Linked DNA regions of Homo sapiens: regions 2 and 3 are each linked to region 1. Evidence: promoter capture Hi-C in human tissues and cell types (Jung and others, 2019). All regions are on one chromosome and are shown on one strand. The core of a region is centred on a gene start or on the middle of the fragment in contact, and the rest is flanking DNA. Distances in the headings are between cores, read along the strand shown.

Evidence for each region. The method cuts DNA at HindIII sites, captures the fragments that hold promoters and counts their contacts. A contact is called where the count stands out against the background at its distance.
Region 2: a fragment that was not itself captured here is called in contact with the fragment with the promoter of SLC16A14 in region 1 in 1 of the 25 tissues and cell types used here (heart right ventricle).
Region 3: a contact is called between a fragment that was not itself captured here and the fragment with the promoter of SLC16A14 in region 1, in 1 of the 25 tissues and cell types used here (lymphoblastoid cells).

What each region holds. Positions count from the first base shown.
Region 1 is chr2:230,067,060-230,071,030 of GRCh38, forward strand. It overlaps SLC16A14 (solute carrier family 16 member 14), which reads right to left and starts at 1,865. Exons shown (of 5, transcript NM_152527.5): 1 at 1,496-1,865. All of the region lies in intron 1 of LOC107985995 (a long non-coding RNA gene), which reads left to right. RefSeq lists enhancers at 573-1,343, 1,739-1,858, 1,869-1,928 and silencers at 719-968, 1,239-1,508. The HindIII fragment of the contact is 6,778 bases long and covers 1-3,971 here.
Region 2 is chr2:230,419,706-230,423,676 of GRCh38, forward strand. The region is part of intron 2 of SP100 (SP100 nuclear antigen); the gene reads left to right. Among named protein-coding and RNA genes, the nearest start is that of SP100, 5.5 kb to the left of the region's middle. The HindIII fragment of the contact is 3,698 bases long and covers 1-3,640 here.
Region 3 is chr2:229,800,971-229,804,941 of GRCh38, forward strand. TRIP12 (thyroid hormone receptor interactor 12) reads right to left here. Exons shown (of 42, transcript NM_001348323.3): 19 at 3,029-3,257; 20 at 2,601-2,719; 21 at 1,282-1,489. Among named protein-coding and RNA genes, the nearest start is that of DNER, 88 kb to the left of the region's middle. The HindIII fragment of the contact is 4,828 bases long and covers 1-3,971 here.

The DNA of each region.
Region 1 (3,971 bases), core at 615-3,114:
AGCGGCTCTGCATCCCACGCAGGTGAGTGCGGGCTTCACCTTTAATTCTGCTCTGCAGGCGCTTCCGCGCTCTTCACCTGGTGTGTACAGGGCATTTGGGGCCTTTAGAGGGCGCACTTGCGGCCAGCAGGCTGAAGAGGCTGCCGCGGAGAAGGCTGGGGAGCGGAGCTGAGCTGAGCTGGTGCAGACAGCATAGGAGAAAAACAGAACCGAAAAATTCACACCGAATTAGGAGGACTCAACACATACATGCTTCGCTCTGGGTCAGGGACTGTGCTTGGTGGCTTCTCCTCCAGTCCAATTGGCATGAATGTCCGCATTTTACAGAGGAAGAATCTGAGCCATCAAATGGGAGCAATGAAGCTTAGAAAGGTTAAACTAGCAGGCTGTGGAAACCAAATCGGAACCCAGGCCTGCAGGATCCCAAGCCTGTTTTACCTCCTCCCACCCCCAACACTGCCTCTCTCCCCTCTCTTCTCTCTCTCTCTCTCTCTCTCTCTCTCTCTCTCTCTCACACACACACACACAGCCGCACACGCACGCACATGCAAACAAAGAAGCCAGACAAGGCAAAGGAGAATCTCTCTAAGCCCCAATAATGGCCCTCAGTCATCCTTGTTAATGAGCCCGAATCAACTTTTCCTCAGAAAGAAAATGGCTTAATTGGAAAGCAGAGTTCAGCTCCTAAAACATCGTCATGGCCTTGGCAGCGTTTAGCCCCGAAATGGCCGTCCCCGGTCTCTCACCCCATTTCAGCCTCTCTTGAGGAGCCTCAATCGGAAGCGCTAAGGGGGCCCAGCCTCTGCGCGCCCTGGGTGCGGGATCGTGCCCGCGGGGTCCGGCCTCGCGCCCCACCCTTCGAGCGCCCGCCCCCACCCGCGCTCGGTGCTCCCGCTCCCTTGGCACCCCGAGACCACATCCCCACTTCGGGCACCCCGCATCCCTCGGCGCGTTCGGAAGCCAGCAGCCCACCGGGGAAGCTGGGCCGGCTGCAGCACCACAGCCTGTGCAGAGAGGCATCCGCACCCCGCGAAGTCCCTAGGCGCAGCCCCGGGTCCCCCGCTCTGCGCCTCATCACTGTCCAGTTCGAGTCCCAAACGGGCCTAGAGAGCAGCCGGGCAGCGAGGCTGGGCTCCGGGCAGAACGCGCTTCTCCAGCCGGACGGGGGTGCCCAGGATGACGCTCGCGGGGCCCCGGCCAGCTTGAGCAGCAAGGCGCGCGTCCCCAAGCTCCGCCTGGCGGTCTGCCCTGAACCGCCGGTTACCCTGCCCGCCCGCAGCTCCCAAGCCCCCGCGGCGGCCTTGGCACTACCACCTGCCCCGGCACAGTCTCGCCCTCCACCGCCCGGGCAGCCTTTCCCGAGCCTGCCTTGGGCTGGGGCTGCCCCTTCCCGGGGGTCCCTGGGGGTGCAGCGGCCATCTGAAACCTAGGCTCCGATGCCCCCGGCGTCGCTCCATTCCCCAGGCCCGCGGCGCGCGCGGCCTCGGATACTCACCGCCCGAGGCCCGCTGGGCTGCGGCCTCACTCGGCTCCACGCCCGGATCCTCGAACTTGCTGCTCTGCTTGGAGCCCCCTGAGCTGCTGGGTGTAGAGATTTGTTGCAATGTCGCCTATCATCCTGGAGACGCGGGTGCCTGCGGCTCAGCTCTCCGCCCGGCTCGGTGCGCTCTGTGAGGGGCTCCCGGGCTCTTCCGCCGCTCGCTGCCAGGCCAGGTGAGCGTTTGGTGGAGCTGAAAGCTCGACGCCTCAGTCCAGGTGGCTTTAAAACGGGTGCGTTTGGAGGTGCCCAAACCTAACCTGGGCTTCCTTCCAATCGGAGCAATTTCAAATCTTCATGCTCGTTCATTCCTATACCGGCTAATTCTGGTTTGGCAGGGAAAAAAAATGCAGTCACCTCACATGCACACTCTTGTGGCCGGTTGAAGTTTATAGCTTTGGCTGAGGTTCCGCTAAGGCGCTGCACATTTATCACTGGCGGAAAGGTCCTGAAATCTAATCCAGGATGCAAGTGAGACTAGCAGTAGCCTCCATTTCTCTGAGATGGGAGAGAAGGGATGAAACAGACCCTCACTGAAATATTTTTGGCCAAAGAGGACTCAAAGTCCCTTATTCTCTCTCTTTTAGAGACACGGGTTTCACTATATTGCCAGGCTGGTCTCGAACACTTGGACTCAAGGAATCCTCTGGCCTTGGCCTCCAAAGTGCTGGGATCACAAGCTGAGCCACCGTGACCGGCCAGTCCCTCATTCTTGTTTCCACCCTGGGTCCCACCTCTCCCTGCTCTTTCTGCACGTCCATTACCTACCTTCGTGGGCACCAGGCACAACTTTCATCTCAATACCTCCCTACCTCATTCCCAGCAGGGCACACAACATAGTGCTTTGCCTTGGACAGTTTTCTGTATTATTGAAGTGAATGTGTGAGTCGATGAAGCCTGTGCTGTTTTTTCCCGCCTGAAGGTTTTGCAGTAATTCTCTGCTGCTGTTGTGATAAACTGCCACAGTAATAGCAGAGGAAAACCACACAAATTCACTATTTTACAGTTCTGGAGGTCGGAAGTTTGAAATGGGTCATACTAGGCTGAGATCATGGTGTTGGCCACCTTGAAGGCTGTGTTCCTTCTCGTGGCTGTAGGGGAGAGCCACCAGCTTCTGCAGGCCGCCCACATTCCTTGGCTGGTGGCTCTTCCTCCATCTTCAAAGCCAGCACTGCTGCGTCATTTTGTCTTCTTTCCATACTCACATTGCCTTGTCTCCCCTTTTCTGCCCCCACCCCTGTCCACTTTTAAGGACCCTGGGGATTACATTGAGTCCAATGAGATAATCCAGATAATCTCTCTATTTTAAGGTCAGCTGATTAGCAACCTTAATTCCATCTGCAACCTTAATTCCCCTCTTGCCATGTAAGGTAACAAATTCACATGTTCCAGGGATTAGGATGTGGACATCTTTGGGAGACCATTATTCTGCCTACCACAGATTTCCTTCTTTCTTCTTTTCCTTTTTCTTTTCTTCCTTCTTTTTCGTTTCTTTGAAAAAAAATTCACATGTATTTCACATTGCCTTCCTCGGTCACCCAAGCTGGAGTGCAGTAGCATGATCACAGCTCATTGCAGCCTCAACCTCCTGGGCTCAGGTGATCCTCCCACCTCAGCCTCCTGAGTAGCTGGGACTACAGGCACACGCCACCATGCCTGGCTAATTTTTTTGACTTTTTATAGAGACGGAGTCTCATTATATTGCCCAGACTGGTCTTGACCTTTTGGACTCAAGTGATCTGGCTGCCTCACCCTCCCAAAGTGCTGGGATTACAGGCATGAGCCGCTGCACCCGGCCTATATTGCTATTTCTTATATCAATTCTGTCTCTCTTTTTTTTTTTTTTTTTTTTTGAGATGGAATCTCACTCTGTCACCCAGGCTAGAGTGCAGTGGCAATCTTGGCTCACTACAACATCTGCTTCCCAGGTTCAAGCAATTCTCCTGCCTCAGCATCCCAAGTAGCTGGGGTTATAGGAGCGTGCCACCATGCCCAGCTAATCTTATATCAACTCTTGATTTAAAAATTATTGAGGCTGGGCACAGTGGCTCACGCCTGTAATCCCAGCACTTTGGAAGGCCAAGGCGGGTGGATCACTTGAGGCTAGGAGTTCAAGACCAGCTTGGCCAACATGGTGAAACCCCGTCTCTACTAAAAACACAAAAATTAGCTGGGTGTGGTGGCGCCTGCCTGTAATTCCAGCTGCTTGGGAGGCTGAGGCACGATATTGCTTGAATCTGGGAGGCGAGAATCGCTTGAACCTTGAGCTGAGATCGTGCCTCTGCATTCCAGCCTAGGCAACAGAGTGAGACTCTGTCTCAAAAAAAAAAAAGAAAAAAAAATTTTGAGAAAATTGTGAGAAATTGTGGCCAAGTGAGGGCATTTTGATGAGGTGCTAGGCTTCAGTGGTTTACATATCTTACTTTTGCTGATA
Region 2 (3,971 bases), core at 542-3,041, 350 kb after region 1:
TTATTCATCTTTTATTGTGCCTAATTTATGTACAGATTGGGGAAAACATAGTATATGCAGAGTTTGGTACTATCTGCGGTTTCAAGCATCCACTGGGGTTCTTGGAAGCATCCCCTGTGGATAGAAGGGAACTAGTGTGCTAAATTTTACATATGAATTTGCGTTGGTGACCCATGATCTGATCCATGGTTCTATTTTCATTCTTGTTTCAATACTGAAATGTTTTAGTTACTATGATTTTATAGGTAGTGTTCTGTAACCTACCTTACTGGGATTGAATTGAGAGACACTAAATGAACAGATAAATTTAGGAAGAATTTATGTTTTAAAAAAATCCTGAATGGCCCCAGTGAGAAACATAGTAAATCTCTCCATTTATTCATGATTGTTTGAACTTGGGACCTTGTTGGGTCGCTTTAGTTCTAGGCATTTTAAAATTGTATTTGTAAACAGGAATTCATTTTCCTTTTACATTTTCTAGTTATTTCTTGCTGGCATAAGGGAAATCTATTCATTTTAGTTAGCTGATCTTGTGCATAGGAGTCTTACTAAGTGGTCTTCTCCCTCTTAATATTGTCTTGTGTTTTTCTGGAGAAATAATTACATCTTCAAAGATAGTAGCAGCTTTGTCTCCTCTTTTTCAGAATTTATACCTGTATACTTTTCTTTTTCTTTCTTTTTTCTTTCTCTTTTGCCTTAGCGCATTAGCCAGGACTGCCAGTGTAATACTGAATAGTAACAGTAAAAATGAACATTTTAGTTTTATTCCTGATTTCAAGGGGAATACTTATAATGTTTAAATTGAGGCTTTCTTATAGACACCTTTTTTCAAGTTAAGGACATTTCCTGCTGGCTCTGGTTTACTAAAAGTTATTTATTTTAATCAGGCCTGTGTATAGGATATTTATCAAAATGCCTACTAAAGAATCTTTGAGAATTGTATCATTTTTCTCTTTTAATCTGATTTATCCACAGTAAATTATATTGAAACATTTTATTAATTCGGTTATTAATTTCACCAAAGTAAAACATATATATATATATAGCTTAAAGTATCAGTCAATAAGACCTTTAAAAACACAAGTAGTACTTTCTGCCATCTTCCCAGCCCATGTCCAGTTTCCCTAATGGATTAACTTTTTGGCTCTTACTTTTGTATTTACTTCTGTATTTTGAAATGATGTGCTGATACAGCTCTTTGTAATTTTTCAAGTTTCAGACATTAATCTGTTCACATAATAGGACAGAAGATGAAGACTTTTTCCATAACACTCCTTTTCATTCCCTGTCCATTCTCATAATACATCACAGTTGGAGGTTCATCAGTAATCAGTGTTACCATTATGATGACTATTTACATGTTGTTCATAACCAAGTCATCTACTATATTATGATTACATTTCCTTTCCTGTGCAACATCCTCCCGCCCCTCCCCGCCGACCCCACAAATAACTATTGCCCTCTTATATATTTGCTTGGATTTTGTGTGTCCTCATTATGAATTCTTCCCAAGCACTCTGCAGAATTCTAAAATTCTTTTCAGTACAGTGAGGCACATTGGGTAATTTATCAAGTCCATTTTACTTTCTTGGGGAAACCCTCCTGGAATTATCCATTCCCCTGATTCCATCAGTTCTGGTTAGTTTCAGCTTCCAAGGCTGACCTTGAAGCTTGACATCTCTCCTGTGTTGGGTCTTGTTTTGTGGATTACATGTATACCTCTTTCTTGCTTTACTATCTCATTTTGGTTTACCACATTATCCAGTAGCCTCCTGACTAAGAGTTTATAGAAGATATACATATATATATATATATATCCTACCTTACTGGGATTCAATTGAGAGACACTATATATATATATATATAAATTGTACATGTCTGGAAAAAAAATTTTATCCTTAATCCTCACAACTGCATAAATATTTGGTAAGTATAAATGCAGAGTTTGGAAATTAATTTAGTTCACTGTCTTGCAACTTCCAGCATTGCTAATAAGAAACCTGATGCCATTCTGATTATTGATCCTGTCTTTCTATGTCACCTGTTTTGCCTGTCTGAAATTTTCTGGCTCTTCTCTTTGATCCCTTGATTCTAAAATCTCATGATGGTTTGCCTTGATGTGGGTGTTAAATTCATTTGTTGTGCTTTGCTCTCCAGGGCCCTTTCAAATGGACAACTTTATTTCAATTCTGACCATTTTGCTTGTGATATTATTTGAATAGTTTCTCCCTTCTGCTTTATCTCTCTCTTTTATCTTTTGGAATTCCTGTTAGTTGGATGTTAGCTTTCCTAGATTGATCCTCTAGAGACTCCCTGGTTTTTTTTCTTGAAAATCTTATATGTCTTCTTTTCTTGAATCTAACTTCTATGACATTTTCTGAGGAACTTCATTCCTTCTAGTGATTAAAACACTTCTGCCATTATATTTTTAATTTCCAAAAGCTCTTTTGAAAAGTTGTTTCTCTTTTATAGCATCTTGTTTCAAGAAATCCGAAATTTTCTCTCTACTAATGAGGATGAAAATTTTTTTTAAATTTTACGTTTCTTCCAAGGTTGTTTTAAGTGTTAGTTCCTTCCAGGTTTCTTTCCCAGCTCCTCCTCCATTATTTGCTTGTTCTGGAAGAATTCATCAAGTGTCCACTGGGTGTCCATTCACATTTCGGAATGAGACACTAAAAATCTGATTAGGAGCTCTGTGCAAGGAATGCCTCTCATTGACTGTGCCTCATTTTGATTTTTCATTTTCCAACTCGCCTTCTAAAGGAATGGTGCCTCTAATTCCTGACAACTTCCAGAGTTCAAAAGTGTACACTGGCTTACTCCTTGTCAGCTTCCCCTAAGCAAGTAATCAAGATTTTTGTTTTTTCATTCTGTGAAATTAGCTACCATATATGCCCCTATCTTCCAAAATGTTTGATTATCTCTTATTTGATGCCCTTTTCTATTCCCTGATCTTTGCTTCTTTTCTGCCTCTAACTCTCTCTTATAGGTGGTTTCATGGGATTTCAGAAGGAACACAGATGAATGCAGGTGTGTTCAACCTGCCAGGCTTAACCAAATGCATAGATTGGTTCTCTAATGTGACCTTTCCTGGAATCCCTGAGATAACACCTACATGGTCATGCCATATGACTCTTTCATCCACTCCTGGGTTGGATTTATTTATATTTTGTTGTGGGATTTTACCTCACGTGTTTATAAGCAACTTTGTGACCTACAATTTTCATTTCTTATTTTGTATTTGTCTAGGGTTGATAGCAGAACTATAGCAGCCTCATGAAATAACTGAGGGTGATTGAAATTTTGAATATATTTATATATATGCACATATATGTATTAGAATGATTTGTTTAATACAGACATCATCTGTTCCTTGAAAGATTGCAGAAAATTGTCCATTAAATTATTTGAAACTGATGTCTGTGTGTGTAGTTGTTAGGAGAAAGCAGATTAGTGAAGCTCTGGAAGTATATTATGCATTTCTCCTGTTATTTTTAGTTCTTATGCTGACCTTTGAGCCAGTTTTGATTGTTTATTGTCCTAAAAAGTAACTATTTCCCTAGATTCTCTTCTTATTGGGAGAAAGTTGTATAGAAATTTCTTATATAAAGTTTTAATCCTTTCCTTCTCTGAAGATGTGTCCTTTTTCCTATTCCTACCATTGTTTATTATTGTTTTTTCCTTTGTTTTCTTGATCAATCTTTCCATTTTGTTGGTCTTTTCAATGAACCACCTTTTGGTTTTATTGATCCACTACTCTTATTTTCTGTTTGAGATTTAATTAAATCTTGATTTTCTTTATTATATTTTTCTATATATTTCTTTCCTAATTCTTTACTTCTCCTTTGTTGAGGGGATTACCTTGTGTTCTGTTTCTAATACGTTGGTTTAAAACTTAATTTACTTGCAGTGTTTCTTATTTTCTAATAAATGCATTTTAGGCCATGAATGTTCATCTCTGTGCCACTTTG
Region 3 (3,971 bases), core at 486-2,985, 270 kb before region 1:
AATTGTCTGAACTGTATCACTCTCTGTAATTTACTGAGTATCTATGATGTCTCAGGCACCATGCCTACATTACAGTAAAACCCTGCAATAACTTATGTTACTGCAGCAGCTAGTGGGTAGGAATGGGGCTGGGAAGGAAGTAAAGGAGAGAGCAAGGCTGGAAAGGAAAATGGCAGACAAAAGCAACTGCAGAATCAGGGATGTGGAAGAGTCCCCAGAACTCTCCAAGCCCAATCTCCTCAGACTGGTCAAACAACATGGGTGCCAGTTAAACTCAGCAGTTTCCTAAAATAATACCCACTGTGCCAGAAGTTCAGTCTGCCAGAAGTCTTGAAACTGCCAAAATTCATATTTAAGCTGGACTAGAAAACTGCCACCAGGTGGCACCAAATTCCCCTCATCCCCTCTCCTACCTGAGTTGGCTGCCTGCACAAGACAATGCTACCCTGCAGATTATAAGATTAAATTTTTGGACCCCACTTATTATTACTATATTTTAGCATGATCTACTTTTCAGTTTAAAAGGAGCCAGAAAGAGTACTGAAGTGAATACATACTGAATTTCAGAACTGAATTTGGTTCATCAGGTACCACTCATCTAGTAATATTAAGCTTCTAATAGCAAGGAAATAAAAACACTTTTAGAGTGTGATTTGTTTCTAACACAACAAAATGGAAACCAATGGAAGTTTTGGAAACATTCTTAGTAGCATGGTATAACAAAGATTAAAAGCTGATAAATAAATGGGAGTAGAGAATTTAAGAACTCTCATTTTCCCTTATTAAAAGCAAAGTATTTAACTCCCAGTTGCCAATTAAAGATAAATGGGGAATCAGTATTTTTTGGCCTTTATTCTAAGACTTCTAATTTTCAGTATTTTTAACTGTATTAATATCTGGATGTCTCTGAGGTCGTATGTATGCAGCAGCACAAAAAATAGTCACAAGATTATGAAATCAGAAACCAGAATTCAAATCCCACAATGTTAGAGCCTACAAGTAACATAAGTGTGTAACACCGTGCAAGTCACAAATGTCTCTGAACTTTAGTTTCCTTGTATGTCAGTGGGAATAAAACTAATCTCTTACAGTTCCTAAACACAGCCCAATACAGTAGGTTTCCAATAAATGTTTTCTTCCCATTCTCATTAACAAAATACAAAAGGAAAAATATAATATATATATGCTAATATGTTACCATTTTACTCCCTATATGATTCTTAGGTACCAAAGCAGCGCTAACAGCAAAGAAATAAAAATCACAACACAATTCTTACTTACCCTTGAGGGCTGAGATCTAAAGAATCATCCCTGCTGTGCTGCAAGCTGGGTGATCCCAAGTCAGCTGCAGCATGAGTGGCAGCTGTGGCTGTCCCACTGCTGACTGAAGTTGTGGATCCCATGGATCCCGATCCATTCGTACATGCCTTTGGTGGACTTGTCAACAAAGACTCTGATTCTGCTAAGTGTTTTACTTGATGCATTACACCTTTATAATAACAGAGATGAAAGGGAGTCAGTTTTAATCAGGAGTAGAACCTTCTCCCCACCATTACAAAATCCCTAAATACCAACACTGACATAATACACAAAAAGACTAAAACATAACTGGCAAATAGGTAAAAGAAATTAGGAGCCAGAGTTTTCAACTTGACTTCAATCAGAAAAAAATATAAAAACTAAAGGTTAAAGAAAAATACTGATATTGAATGTCTTCTAATCTTCAAAACCAGATTATATAAAACTTAATAGGGTCACAAAGTCCTATTCAGAGTTCAAAATACTCATTATAAAAACAATAATCAACTACAGAAATACAGTGCACACCCTGTGGTGTGACAGCCAGAAGGGATGGAAAAGACCAAGAATCAGTTAACTTCAAGCGCTACAAAAAGACAAGATCACATTAACACTGCCACCAAAAAAAAAACCAGCTATTGAAGGGTGGGAACTATCACATCCTTTAAGGTGTGTAAAGAGAGCTAAACATTAACTTGTGAGGCAGGGGTTCCTATCTGTCCCGGAATCATAGGAGAGTATGTATGAAGGAGTGTGACTAAGAACTATCAAATTGTATACCAATATGCATGTCTGATTATCAGCTAGTATAAACTATATGCAAATATGTGGATATATTTAACGTGAGTGAATGAGCACACGTTCACATTTTTCTGGGGAAGAGTCCACGGCTTCTATCATTCTATCAGACTCTTATTAAAAGACAAACTGTAATCCCACGCTGAGGCAGTAGGATTGCTTGAGGCAAGGAGTTTGACATCAGCCCAGGTGTGCACCACCACACCCCGCTAATTTTTGTATTTTTCTTAAAGACTGGGTTTCACCATGTTGGCCAGGCTGGTCTCCAACTCCTGACCTCAAGTGATCCACCTGCCTTGGCCTCCCAAAGTGCTGGGGTTACAGGCGTGAGCCACCACGCCCAGCCTAAAAGACACATTCTACGTACACAGAGCTATAAGCTAACAGAGCTTTAAATGTCATTTTTAAATTGAAAAGCTATCAGTTTTTGCTCGACAGATTAAAACTTTATTTCTGTTGAAGTACTATCTAGACTAAATGACTATTAATTTATATGACATTACCTTCTCTTCTGAAGTAAACACTAAAAATATCAGGTAACTTCTGCATTAAAATTTCTGCCATCTGAAGTGCTCCCACTACTATCTTCAGGTCTTGGCTTGACAGCATGGAAGCAATGTGACTAAAAAAAGAAAGCATTTGTATATAAAACTCTGCCTGAATTTGATGATTATTTTTGGCCATACTACTTTAAATTGAGAGCAAAGCATTTTCATTGTGAAACCATTCTATTAACATAAACATTTTTCTTAAATGCTCAAGTTTTATATTTTATAAAAGCTATTATGTGAATATAAATAGACAAAAAAGAGCTCAAGATACTCCTAACAAATTTTTGTGCATATTTTTTCTATTATTACTTTAGAGGTTTCTGAAATTACTTGCAGAGATTTGTATTTGTAAAATGTTTCTACTATTTTCATTAACACACCTTGAAACAGCATGATTTTTCAGAACATCCTTCAGAAGTTCAGCATCCGCAAAATAAATTATCCTAAGAATTGCTCTAAGGCACTTATGTCTGACCGCAGGTCCTGCTGAGGAACTATACACTTCATAAAGAACACCAAATAATGTCTTAATAAAAGACTTAGCCAGTTCCGGATCCTCTTTCATAAGCTGTGCTCGAGCATCATCCTTCTTTGACTCTGAATATCCACCTATTACATTAAAAAAAAATATATGTGCAATCCTGAAGTGACAGACTTCAGAAACACAATAAACAATATAAAATACTCAAGCCAGTGTAATTCTTGAAATGCTATGAAAACTTTTTCATTATAGAACACATGAACTTCTATGATATGATCAACTAGGATTTACAAAGATGCTAAAGGCAACATTAAGACAGACAAAATTCAGCTGTCTAGAAAACTAGTGACCCATTGGGGCCAGCTGAAAGTAACAATTCATCACCGCACTGTACCTCTTTATTTTACTGATATACATTCAATGAAACAATAGGGAAATCCAATCCTAACCAACCAAACCAGTGGTAAGAAACTGAGTTCTAGAAATGCACCATATTTCACTAAAAGCTTTGTAAAATGGATAAAGAAGGTAATTCTACCACTTTGCTTAGTGACATAAAGTGTAAGGAAAAGATAACTGATAAGCAGTAAGTTATATACAAGGGGTTGACAAAGTACGGTCTGTAAGCCGAATCCAGTCCACCACCGGTTTTTGTAAATATAATTTTATTAGAACGCAGCCATGTACATTTGTTCACATATTGTATATGGCTAATTGAGGGCTACAATGGCAATGGTGGTGAGTATAGACTATATATAACCTGCAACACTTATATTATTTACTATCTGGCCCTTTATTTTATTTAATTAATTTATTTATTTATTCAGACAGAGTCTCACTCT